3 separate regions of the Homo sapiens genome follow, and regions 1 and 3 are each linked to region 2. Evidence: promoter capture Hi-C in 16 types of primary human blood cells and fetal thymus (Javierre and others, 2016). All regions are on one chromosome and are shown on one strand. Each heading gives the region's core, a stretch centred on a gene start or on the middle of the fragment in contact. The rest is flanking DNA. Distances are from core to core; before and after follow the strand shown.

The links. The method cuts DNA at HindIII sites, captures the fragments that hold promoters and counts their contacts. A CHiCAGO score of 5 or more calls a contact.
Region 1: the fragment with the promoter of PER3 here is called in contact with the fragment with the promoter of PHF13 in region 2 in 1 of 17 cell types (M0 macrophages); the score reaches 6.3 in M0 macrophages.
Region 3: a fragment that was not itself captured here is called in contact with the fragment with the promoter of PHF13 in region 2 in 1 of 17 cell types (neutrophils); the score reaches 5.1 in neutrophils.

The regions. Positions count from the first base shown.
Region 1 is chr1:7,781,543-7,785,619 of GRCh38, forward strand. It overlaps PER3 (period circadian regulator 3), which reads left to right and starts at 2,749. Exons shown (of 22, transcript NM_001377275.1): 1 at 2,749-2,834; 2 at 3,112-3,463; 3 at 3,899-4,044. The coding sequence starts at 3,336. RefSeq lists a silencer at 2,215-2,824. The HindIII fragment of the contact is 8,097 bases long and covers 1-4,077 here.
Region 2 is chr1:6,611,144-6,615,389 of GRCh38, forward strand. PHF13 (PHD finger protein 13) reads left to right here and starts at 2,588. Exons shown (of 4, transcript NM_153812.3): 1 at 2,588-2,962. The coding sequence starts at 2,924. It overlaps LOC107984913 (a long non-coding RNA gene), which reads right to left and starts at 2,244. Exons shown (of 2, transcript XR_001737882.3): 1 at 1,549-2,244. RefSeq lists silencers at 2,037-2,086, 2,137-2,916, 3,087-3,176, 3,317-3,776. The HindIII fragment of the contact is 6,383 bases long and covers 1-4,246 here.
Region 3 is chr1:7,944,286-7,948,276 of GRCh38, forward strand. No RefSeq gene overlaps it. Among named protein-coding and RNA genes, the nearest start is that of TNFRSF9, 5.4 kb to the left of the region's middle. The HindIII fragment of the contact is 3,304 bases long and covers 467-3,770 here.

The DNA.
Region 1 (4,077 bases), core at 1,499-3,998, 1.2 Mb after region 2:
CCCCCTTTTCTCACCAGCCCCTCTCTAGGTACTCTACCCTTTTGGTACCCAGCATTTCCGCATACCCCAGTGAACAGAAGAAAACCGCTCCCCTTGTGAAAAGTGCTTTTTAGTATAGGCGATGAGGAGGAAACTGGCTTTTACACAATTACCAAAATTCAGGATGTGGCTTTGGAGTTCCCTAAATAGATGGTCTTTCTAAAGTGATGTGCAGAGCCGACCCCGTCTGTGGTAGACTAGATGGCTGCTGGCATGGACCCTGGGATAGATGAGTGGATAGGTGAGGGACATCCCCAGACACATGGCTCTGTTCCTGTAGATCCTTTTTTCCTCATGAATGTATTTCCATTCTTATCGTAGAACCCCTAGGAAACAATATAATACGGGTGGAAGAGGACTTTTGCTTATGTTTACAATAGGAAAATCCAAGTCCCTTTCCCGAATTACAGGTCCCACGATGATCTGGTCCTTTCTAGTTTTCTGACTTCATGTCACACGACTCTCCAGCTCTCTCTTCTCCAAGCAAGGTACTCCACCAAAGTATAGCTGTTGACATCGGAGAGACTTGTGCCCATGAGACTTTCAACATCAGGGTGTGGCTTGAAGGCCAGAGTTAGCTATGAATGAAAACAGGCAAGGAAGCCCTGAGGGAGAAATGGACCTGATAAAGTTTGTTTCGGTTTCTCATCAGCAAACTGACTTCTTTCCAAAGGTCTTCTGCAGGTACTTTCAGCTCTGCCGGGTCTACTTCCTCACCCGCGGCAGGCGCCTCTCATCTCAGGTTGAAATCCGCCTTCCCCACTCGCGGCAGGCGCCTCTCATCTCAGGTTGAAATCCGCCTTCCCAGAGGCCTGCCCTGCTGATCTGACTAAGCAGGCTCTGGCCTCCCCACTCCACCTTTCTCCCAGTTACTCTTCCTTCCAGTAGTTTGTTTTCTACACATCGCTTTAGGCTTTATGAACTTGTTTATGGGGTTGTTTGTATGGCTTTCTCAATAAAACGTCAACTCCCTGGGTGGCAGGGACTTTGGGCCACTGTTCTATCCGCTGGGATTCCAAGCGTCCCTACCCAGATCTGCACGCAATAAATGCTTGCTGAACGAATGCAGTTTGACAAAACCCAGCTTCGGAGGAGAGCAAGCCAACCTAGAGTATCGCTTGGAAGATATAAGGTGGTTTATTCAATACCTAACATGAACACTCACCTCACTTTTCCCCTCTTCCTTTACATACAATTTCATCCATCCAACAAATACTGAATATTTTTTCTGTACCAGGCAGCGAAGAGGGGCGGCACTCTGCACTGTACCTTTCATTTCTAACATGTTGAGATACTAAACTGAGCTTTCAGACATTTTTTTTAAAGGGCTCTACAACTTCTTTTCTGAAACAGAGTGTCTTTTACGTTTGTCTTCCTCCAGTTGCCAAATGAATCTAATTTTAGGAAGTGCAGGGAAGTGTTTTAAGTTCCACCGTCAAAATTCTGTTTCTGGGCCGGTGCAGTGGCTCACGCCAGTAATCCCAACATTTTGGGAGACCGAGGCCAGCAGATCACTGGGGCTTAGGAGTTTGAGAACAGCCTGGCTAACACAGACCATCTTTACCAAAAACACAAAAATTAGCCAGGTGTGGTGGCTGCACCTGTAGTTCCAGCTACTCGGGAGGCTGAAGCAGGAAACTGGCTTGAGCCCAGAAGACGGAGGTTGCAGTGAGCCAAAATCGCGCCACTGCACTCCATCCAGCCTGGACAACAGAGCAAAACCCTGTCTCAAAAAATAAAAAATCTGTTTCTAAAAATCGGGTGGGCTTTTTACCAGGGCTGCTTTATGGCCCGGTTCCTCCAAGTCCACCCCACTCACCGAAAGAGTTAGCGGAGGATGGGGGCGGTTGGGGTGGGCTCGGTAGGTCACGGGCGGTGAAAACCGTGGGAACCCAGAAAGACGGCCAAAGCACGATGAGGACCGCTGCCGGCAGCCCGCCCCACCCTGGGCTCCTCCCCACACCCGCTCGGGCAGCCGGGAGCCACCTACAAACTCCAGGACTCGACCCCAGAGCGCTGGCCTGAGCCGCCCCTGCTCGCCCCCAGTCCCCGCCTCTCCCTCCCTCTAATGCCCCCGCCCTCGACACCGTCGCCCCCCCGCCCCTGCCTCTCGCTCCCCACGTCTCTCGGCACCCCCGCTCCCATCCGCCCCCCCGTCCCCGCCTCTCGCCCCCATCCGTCCCCATTTCCAGCCTCCCCCTGACCCCGACTCAAGCCCCCCGACTCCGCCTCTCGCCCCTCTCTGCCCCCGCCTCTCACTCCCCTCTCCTTCCCCGCCCGCCTCTCACGTGGAGGTTGGGCCGGACCCGCCCCGCCCCACAGAGCCCGGGTCCCGCCCCCACGTGGCTGGCAGCTTCCTGGCCCTATCATTTCTGCGCTGGCTTCAGCGGCTCCGCCCCGGCGCCGTGCCAGGGGGCCGGACACTCCAGTCGCGCGGCACAGGCCTGAGGCCGCTGAGGGCCACCCCGTCCCCTGCCCGCCCGCCGGCCTGCTGGGATTGGCCGAGCGCCGGCCTCCGCCCGAGCCCGCGCGTTATGTAACGCGCCCCGGGGGCCCCGCCCCCTCGCCCTGGCTTATATAACCCGGGCGCACCGGCTCGCGCCCCGCCCCAGGGCCAATGGAGGCCTGCGGAGTCGGCCCCGACGACCAATCGCACGGCCCGGGGGCGGGACCGGTCACGCGGCGGCAGGGGGCGCGGCGCCGGCTGCTGACCGGCACGCGGCGAGCCTCGAGACTGCGCGAGGGCGGCCCCGGGGGCGAGCGGCTGTGCGCGGGGCCAAGGGCGGGGGCAGCAGGTGAGTGCGCGGCCGGGCGGGAGTTCTGGGCGGCCGGGCGGGAGTTCTGGGCACTCGCGCGCGGCAGAGGAGCCCCGCGAGCCCTGCCCTCGGTACTGGGGGCCCCCGGAGCGTGGCGCTTCCGAGCCACCCGCCTCCCCGGGCCCCATCCCTCGGCGCGCGGGAAAGTTGGGGCAGGGGTGAGGACCGCGCGGTCGGGGCGCCCCAGCCAGCCGGGCCGCTGGCGTCGGACTGTCTGTTCCATTTGTCCCTTGTCACCCTTGTCTCCTCCCCCTAGGCCGGAGTCCTGAAAGTCGAGCGAGCTCCGGGTTTTGAAAATGTTGGAGGGAAAAGCTCCTCGGAGATGAGCGTGACCCCCTGGCTCGTGGTGGCCGCCTGTTCTCACTAACGCCATGGCGGGGACCGGAGTGAGAAACCGGTGTCTGTCACTGACTGCAAAGTGAGCGAGAAGCAGGCTGCGGGCCGTCCCAGCACGACGTGGAGCCCCGCGGAGACCTCGAGATGCCCCGCGGGGAAGCTCCTGGCCCCGGGAGACGGGGGGCTAAGGACGAGGCCCTGGGCGAAGAATCGGGGGAGCGGTGGAGCCCCGAGTTCCATCTGCAGAGGAAATTGGCGGACAGCAGCCACAGGTGACGCGCTGGCTTCAGGCCGAGGGCCCCATGCGTTCGTTGTCCTTCCCTGGAGCAGGGAAAGGGGGACCTAAATCTTTTTATTCTTTTGTTTTCAAGCCCAGGGGAAAGTGTAAAGGGGAGACTCGGGCAATGTAGGATGAAGTGATCCGTGACACTGAAGAAAATTACCGAAGAGTATCAGGAGGGAAAAGTGGTTACAAAAGTTAGCTGAGTTGGGGCTCAAGTGGATTAAGGGAAAGTAAGTGGAGAATGTTTGTCATTCACCAGTTGCTTTGCCTCGAGTTCCCCACCTAGAGGAAGAGGGGTCACCACCCTGTGGACTGATGCCGGTAGAGCACTTAGAAACTTACCTGGCTTGCAGTTTGTGTTCCCTAAGCCGCAAGATGCTGTTGTCTTCAGAGGATGAAGTTGTAATTTTTTTTTATCTTCCAGTGAACAGCAAGATCGAAACAGAGTTTCTGAAGAACTTATCATGGTTGTCCAAGAAATGAAAAAATACTTCCCCTCGGAGAGACGCAATAAACCAAGCACTCTAGATGCCCTCAACTATGCTCTCCGCTGTGTCCACAGCGTTCAAGGTAAACAAGCCGGAGAGAAATTTCATCCTACGA
Region 2 (4,246 bases), core at 1,338-3,837:
GCAATGGCGTGATCTCGGCTCACTGCAACCTCCACCTCCCTGACCCATGTCGGTCAGGCTGGTCTCGAACTCCTGACCTCAGGTGATCTGCCTGCCTCGGCCTCCCAAAGTGCTAGGATTACAGGTGTGAGCCACCGTGCCTGGCCCGATAATTTCTTAATATGTGTGTGTGTGGGAAAGGATTTAATGTTTATTATGTGACACATTTACCACAGGGGATAATAATGAGGTGTAAAAAAAAAAATCCCTCTTCTTTCACTTGGGTTTCACCTCTAATAATTATTCTTGGCCAGGCGCGGTGGCTCACGCCTGTAATCCCTGCACTTTGGGAGGCCTAGGTGTGCGGATCACGAGGTCAAGAGATCAAGACCATCTGGCCAACATGGTGAAACCCTGTCTGTACTAAAAATACAAAAACTAGCTGGGCGTGGTGGTGGGCGCTGGTAGTCCAGGCTACTTGGGAGGCTGAGGCAGGAGAATCGCTTGAACCCGGGAGGTGGAGGTTGCAGTGAGCTGAGATGGCGCCACTGTACTCCAGCCTGGCGACAGAGGGAGATTCTGTCTCCAAAAAAAAAAAGAATTATTCTTTTTGGTATTTACATTTTTAAACTACCAACGGGATCAACACCTTAGCAGTGTTTCTTATTCTGGCAAAACGAGTTGCTCCTTGTGAATATGACCTTGGGCAATACAGGCTAACTTCGGGGCATCTGCTTTGGTCACAGTAACCAGGTAACATTCCAAATCTGGCTAAATCATCTGTGCAATTGTATAAGAAGTTGTTAATCAAGTCTCGATGGGCCAAGTCCAATGTCTCTGTTTTAATCAGTAATTTCATGTTTTATCTTGTAAAGTACCTCAATTTATCACCTTTGGGAAGCCCTCCAATGGGCTACAATATTGCAGAAATAATAAAACAACAACAACAACAACAACAGTAAGCTACCATTTATTTAGCCAGGCACTACGCTAAAATTTAACAGCTTAGGAAACTGAGGCTCAGAGAAGTATTTTTTTTTTTTTTTTTGAGACAGAGTCTCGCTCTGTCGCCCAGGCTGGAGTGCAGTGGCACGATCTCGGCTCACTGCAAGCTCCGCCTCCCGGGTTCAAGCAATTCTCCCGCCTCAGCCTCCCGAGTAGCTGGGATTACAGGTGTCCGCCACCACGCCCATCTAATTTTTGTATTTTTAGTAAAGACGGGGTTTCACCATGTTGGTCAGGCTGGTTTCGAACTCCTGACCTCGTGATCCACCCGCCTCGGCCTCCCAAAGTGCTGGGAATACAGGCGCGAGCCACCGCGCCCGGCCGCTCAGAGAAGTATTTCTAAGATTAACACCATCTCCTAACTATTAAATATCTTCATCAGAATGATCATAACCCTTGAAATAGCAACAGCCAGCTTGATGGAGCATTCGGCGCCTGTCAAATATCTTACTAGTATCTCCAAGAGTTCGTTTTCTAATTTGAATTTTCAATTTTGTGTCACTCCCCTTTAACTTCTTCGAAGCTACCAAACAGGTTACTGAATCATCTGCGTTTTGTACTTACCTTTTTCCCCCACTTTCGAATATTAAAAATGTTCCCGTCAGACCGCCTTTTGGTCACCGCATAGGGGCAGTCCCCACCGTGTCCGGCCAGCCTTCCACACGTACAGCTGTCGGATACTCTGCGGTCCAGCGTTTACACACTGCCCATCCCAGTTAAACACCACTAAACAAGTACCAGTCGATGCCAGCGCCAAACACCGCGTCTCCGCCTCGCCCTGCGGGCCGGAGGATATTCAGGAGAGTGGGAAAACGGCCGGTCCCAAGGTTAGGCTTAGGCGGCAACAGAAAGCAAACTGAACGCACACCTCTTTAGAACACTGACAACGCTGGCCCGGTGTTTTTAATGCACGAACCCGGCCACCTCGAGTGAATCCCGCAGATGCCTAGAGAAGAGCCCGGTCCAGTCCCGGCCCCGCGGGCCCGGAGCAGGGAGCCGCACGAAGCCCGCAGCCGCGAAAACAACTTCGCTGAGCCCGGCCTGGAGCGGGGGCCGGGCGGCGACTCCGCCCTCAGCGGGGAGCGGGGAGCGGGGAGCGATGCCCGGGGCGGCCGCGACGTCAGCGTCCCCGCCCCTGCCGCCCCTACTCCCGGCCAGGCCTCGGGGACCCCCGCCCCACAAAGGGGCGCGAACCCCAAGTAGGAGACGAGGAAGGGTAGGTGCCAGCCGCCGCCGCCCTTCGCAACCCGGGCCGTCAGCCCCGCCCCCACCGCCGCAGCGACTCCCGCCCCCGCGCCCGCCGAGACCAAGGCGCTACCGCTCACACTGCCCCTCCCCCCGCGGCCGAGCCGGCGCGGGCCCCCGCACCTCCCCCGCTCGCGCGGCCTCGAGTCCAGAAGACCCGCCTCCACACACCGGGGCCGCCGCCGCGGAGCCTCATGGGGGTTGGAGTCCCCAAGGTTTCCTTTGTGCGCAGTATTGGCGGGGCCTTGGACTACCACTCCCACAAGGCACCGCGCCCGCCTCCCGCGCCACGCCCCCTCGCCGCTGGCTTCCAGTCGCCACCCAGACTACATTTCCCGACAGGCCTCCCGGCTCTCCCGCCCTCCCTCCCGAGACACGAGCCGAACTGGGCGTCAGGTCGGGGAGCCGGTCGGGTTCCCGCTCACCGCCGCCGCCGCCGCCCCCTGCAGCCACTCTCCCGCCTCTACCGCCGCGGGAGCTGCATCGTCCACTCCGGTCGGCGGTGGAACCGCCAGTCCGGGGTCACAGAGCTTGAGAAGCGACGCGCTGAGCCCCCCATCACCTCCAGCCCGGGCGACCCCTCCCGGGTCCGCCCTCGCCCTGCGCAGCCGCCCGAGCCCCCAGCCCCGGGCGGCCCCGCTCCAGCATCCCAGCTCCTGCACTCTCGCAGCCGCCGCCGCCCCCCGCCCGGAACATGGACTCTGACTCTTGCGCCGCCGCCTTCCACCCGGAGGTGAGTGAAGCTGTGCGTCCGAATCGCCCCCGACCACCCCCTCCGCGATCCTGCCGTCCTCAGGCAGCCAGACCCCCGGTCGCCCGGAGCGCCGCCCTCCCCTTCCCCCGCTTTCCCCTCGTCGGCCCCCCCGGGAGCCCAACCCCCGCCCCCTGCTCGGGCCCGCGCTCGGTCCTCTCCGCCGGGCCTCGCCTCCGCGTCCCCTCCGCGGACCTCCGCGTCCTCCCCGCGCCCTTTCCCCAGGGCCGTTGCGCCTATTTCTCTCCCCCGGGCCGCCCCTCTCCGGCCTCGCGTCGACCTGGGACCTGTCGGCGCCCCCAGCCCCTCCCCGCCGGCCTGCTTACTCTTTCCCCGCCCCCGGGGACGCGGTCCGAGCCGCCGCCCGCCCCTGGCTCCGGTTGCTCTCGAGGAGTTTTAGGCCCCCCTCGGACCGGGGTCGGCTCCCGAGGCCCCCGGCTGCTCCCCCGATCCCCCGGGCCCGGTGGCCCGCGCCCCGCCCCCTGACTCCGCGCGGGGCCCAGTCGGCCCCCGCCCCCTACGGCTCTCGGGGGCCGCGTCCTCCGGGGGCCCCACCCGCTCTGGGGACCCGAGTCCTGCCCCCACCCACCGCCCCCCGGCGCGCTGGCCTCTCTCTTCGGGCCCCCGCCCCCCGCCCGCGGGCTTTGCTGGCTCCGCCCCGGCTCACTCCCCCTCCTTCCGGGGATCGGCCCTCGGGGCTCCCGGCCTCCCCCCCGCGCGGTCCCCTCCCCCCAGCCGAGGCTCGTTGGGGTCGGGGGTGCGGGTCCGGCGACCGCGGGCGGGTGGGGGAGGGGAGGCGGCGCCGGAGCCCGCCGGTCTCGCTGCCGCCCCCGGGGGTTCGCAGGGCCTCCCCAGGCCTGGGACCCCGGAATCCTGCCTGGCGCACCCCCCTCACACATACTCGCGGGATGGGCCCCGCACCTTCGGGGGCCGAGTGTCGCGGGGGGCGGCTGCCGCGGGAGGGCGGGTGGGGGCCGCTCCGCCATCTGCTTTCCGAGGAGGCGGCCGGGGGGGCGGGCGGCGTGGGCCGTGTGGGGGCGGCGTGGAACCCCCAGTCCCCGCGCCGGTGCCTCCCGCGCGCCCCCGGCCCGAGGCCGTCGCCGCCCTCCACTTGGCATTCGGGTTTTTGACCCACTTCTGCTGGTTCCCCGCCGAAAGAAAAGTTCTTCGCGGGAGTTGGAGGCCCGGGTGGCGGCCCGCGGTTCCCGTGGCTGGGCAGGCTCGCCAGTGCGGGGAGCGCGGTCAACGCGGGCCTTCGCCTCCGCT
Region 3 (3,991 bases), core at 869-3,368, 1.3 Mb after region 2:
GCCTATAATCCCAGCACTTTGGGAGGCTGAGGTGGGAGGATCACAAGGTCAGGAGATCGAGACCATCCTGGCTAACATGGTGAAACCCCATCTCTACTAAAAATACAAAAAAAAATTAGCAAGGCGTTGTGGCAGGTGCCTGTAGTCCCAGCTACTCTGGAGGCTGAGGCAGGAGAATGGCGTGAACCCGGGACACGGAGCTTGCAGTGAGCCCAGATCGTGCCACTGCACTCCAGCCTGGGCGACAGGGCGAGACTCCATCTCAAAAAAATAAATAAATAAATAAAATAAAAAAAAAATAAATAAATAAATAAACCAAGAAATAGATTTTATTTCATTTTGATTGACTATAGGTCTAATCTTGAATATCTCAAGCAGCTAAATACTTTGAGGCTAAATAGCATGAAGGCCCAACAATTCTAAACAGGATAAAGGAGACATTTAGAAAGAGAAAGCCCTCAAAATAAGCTTCCTATAAAATATTCTTCCGCCCTTCCAGGGCGCATCTTAGAGGGAATCTCTTCCGTGGGATATTCACTGTTTACACTTGTTTTCTGCCTGAAAGATCTATTCTTTCAAGATTCAGTGTCGCCACCCCTACTCCAAACACCCAAACTAGTAGTCACTATTAGACATACCTGGTGCTTGTGATGTCAGTAGGTGTTCTGAGGCCTGGGAAGGAGTAAATTGTTTTTAAACTTGGAACAAAGAAAATGAGCAGGAAATCAAAGAGGAAGGAGGCAGAGTAAGGAGAAGGAAGTACGAATCATAAGGAGAGGCGGGTGTCAGCAGCCATCGACTTTGCTCACCTTTCCTCCTTGTTCTGCCCTTTCTCCAGGTGGCATCCACTCATATGCTAAGGCTTATCAATAGTTGTCTCCAACTTCAGACCACCCCCAACACTGTGCAGTCCCCAGGACAAGAGTACAAACAGAGGCCTGCTTACCATGTGTCCAAATATTTAGAAATTGTTCATCAATCCAAATACGCTGTTAAGTATGTTCTGTCCAGAGCAGAGACACAAACACACAAACACAATGAACACAGAGCTGCGTCTGTGACTGGGTGTCTGGCGCACGGTGCTGGCATAGGGATGCATTAACTCGGCTCCATCTGCTCTCTGGACCCACACTGCCAGGCCTGGGTGAAGACTCCCCCACATCCCTGGATCCATGTCCTTGAAACTCCATTTGAGGGTGACACCGTGCTGTGAGAGTTGTGAGCTGTGCTGTTGCCTCCAAGAACGGCAGGGAGGGTGTGAGCCATAGAAGTACCAGGCAGACAAAAGGCAAGTAGATTTGTCAAATCCATCTCAGATACCAAGGGTGTAACAGATTCTTGTATAATCTATTATTATGCAAGAATATCACAGACAGTGGTATTTCCCTACAGTCCCAAGTATCCTTTTTTTTTTTTTTTTTGAGACAGGGTCTCACTCTGTCACCCAGGCTGTAGTGCAGTGGTGCAATCTTGGCTCACTGCAGCTTCTGCCTCCAGGGTTCAAGGGATTCTTCTGCCTCAGCCTCCCGAGTAACTGGGACTACAGGTGCGCACCACCTTGCCCAGCTAAGTTTTATATTTTTTTGTAGAAAGGGGTTTTGCCATGTTGCTCAGGCTGGTTATCCACTTGCTTGATCCAATTTATGGCCCACTTGGTGGTTTTGGAAGTTCTTGTATATTGCCATGGAATTCACAGCAGTTATGCACAAAGTCTGAGGAAGACTTTGTAATATTAAACAATTCATATTATTCTTGAATATGCACATATGTAATATGTAGAATAAGAACTGCAGCATTAATTCTTTACTAGAATCACCTAGGACTGAGACCCAGAATGACAATTTCAATTTTTATAAAAATATTTAAAACAATTTAAATTTCAAAAGATTAAAAATCTCAGTTCTTTAATAAAAATAAGTTTTAAATATTTGATATTTATCCACTATAATTTGTTTTTAATTCTAATACTTTTGGAACTTTTAGAAAAATGAAAAAACGAATGTAAAAACAAATTTAAAATTTTACATACTCAAATTCACACATTATATTAAATACATACAAATGCTGTATATGTTAAGTACAATTATATTTTATTTCTTAATCCTTTAAGTCATTACTGTCCAAACACAAATTATGCGAAATTATCTATTGTAACAAATGAAATGAAAGCAAAAAAATAAATTTTCTAGATAAAAATACAATTATTTATGAACTATGTGTGTCTTTTTTTTTTTTTGAGACGAAGTCTCGCTGTGTCACCCAGGCTGGAGTGCAGTGGTGTGATCTCGGCTCACTGCAACCTCTGCCTCCTGGGTTCAAGCGATTCTCCCCACTCAGCCTCCCAAGTAGCTGGGACTGCAGGTGTGTGCCACCACACCCGGCTAATTTTTGTATTTTTAGTAGAGACGGGGTTTCACCGCATTGGCCAGGATGGTCTCAAACTCCTGAACTCAGGTGATCTGCCTGCCTCGGCCTCCCAAAGTGCTGGGCTTACAGGCGTGAGTCACCATGCCCGGCCCTGTATGCCTTTATTTACCACTAATTTAAACATTTTCAGGTCATCAGAAAACATCTACACATTTGTAATGTTAGTTAAACTCAGTCATCTTTGCCAACTTTGTTACATAAAAATAATTTGTTATTTAGTTACTTTGAAGACTTCTCTGTGAAGTAGAATATTCTCCTTGCGCTTGATTTGCCACTTTTAAATATTCAGACATGGTGTGTGGGCCCCATTTCTATACTTGCTCCAGGCCCCAAAAGTGTTAGAGACAGCGCTGAGAGACACACAGTTGGTAGTCAATAAACCTTTATCAAATGAACAAATAAATACATGGATTTGTTCACTCCAGTCCTGCGGTCTGCCTGTCTCTTCATGACCTAATGTTTTAATTTCACTCTCTTCCTGGGGAAATCATTCTGGCATGCAGACCCCAACCTGAGCTGTCATTGTCCTTTCTCAGGTCTCATGTAAAATGCTTTTCTGATCACGGCTGACACTGGCCGAGGGCTTACTATGCGCAAGGCACTGTTCTATGTATTTACAGAAGTTCCCACAATTATACCTTAGGACAGCCTTTGTCCCTGTTTCACAGGTGAGGAAACAAGGGCACAGAGAAGCCAGGTAGCCTGCCTGGTGTCACCTGGCTAGTAAGGAGCCGAGAAAGGATTAGAAACTCGGCTGTCTGGCTGCAGAGCCCATGCTCTTAACCAGACTCTTAACCTGCCTGTGCCCAAGGCCCCATTCGCTTGTGGGTCCTATGCTTGTGGAGCCCTCAGAATAGGATTCGTAATTCATAAAATATATTACAAAGGATTACAAAGGAAACCAACTGAATTGAAATGTCCCTGCCAAATATTTTAAAAGCCAATTTGTGATGCACTAATATATGGACTTAACATGTATCTGGCATAATTTCAAATTAATCATGAATCAAAATGGTATTCTGGGATATCTGCAAGAACTGTAATGTGATATGAAGATGACTTTCAGTACTATTGGTCCCAAGCCATGAGTACTGTTCCTTCAGCTATGCTTTGTGAATTACTATATTCCAAATGGGAAGAAATGTTAGGTTTAGATTTCCATTAGAGGTTAGTGAAACTAAAGATGTAATTTAAATCTAAGTTCACAGACTCCCTGATTTTTATCTGTGCACCTTTGAGCATCTGTGGACCTCAGGGTCACAACCCCTGTATGAAGTCTCCTTGCTGTCGCTCATGCGCTTAAACAGTTTGAGCTCTGGGAACTTGCTCTTACTCCAAGAGCAAGCTTCACTTTGATTATTTCTCCAGATGCTGTCATTGTATCTTAAGGCAAAAACTCTATGTCATTTCTGTCCCTCACCATCCTCACCAAGATGGCACATGTTTATGGTGTATCACATTCTGTGGTCCATTCCTCTGGTCCCTTCAACGCTGAATTTAAACAGATTGCGACTACCACTAAATAAATGTTTTCTAATAACAAGAGCTAATACTTATGGGTGGC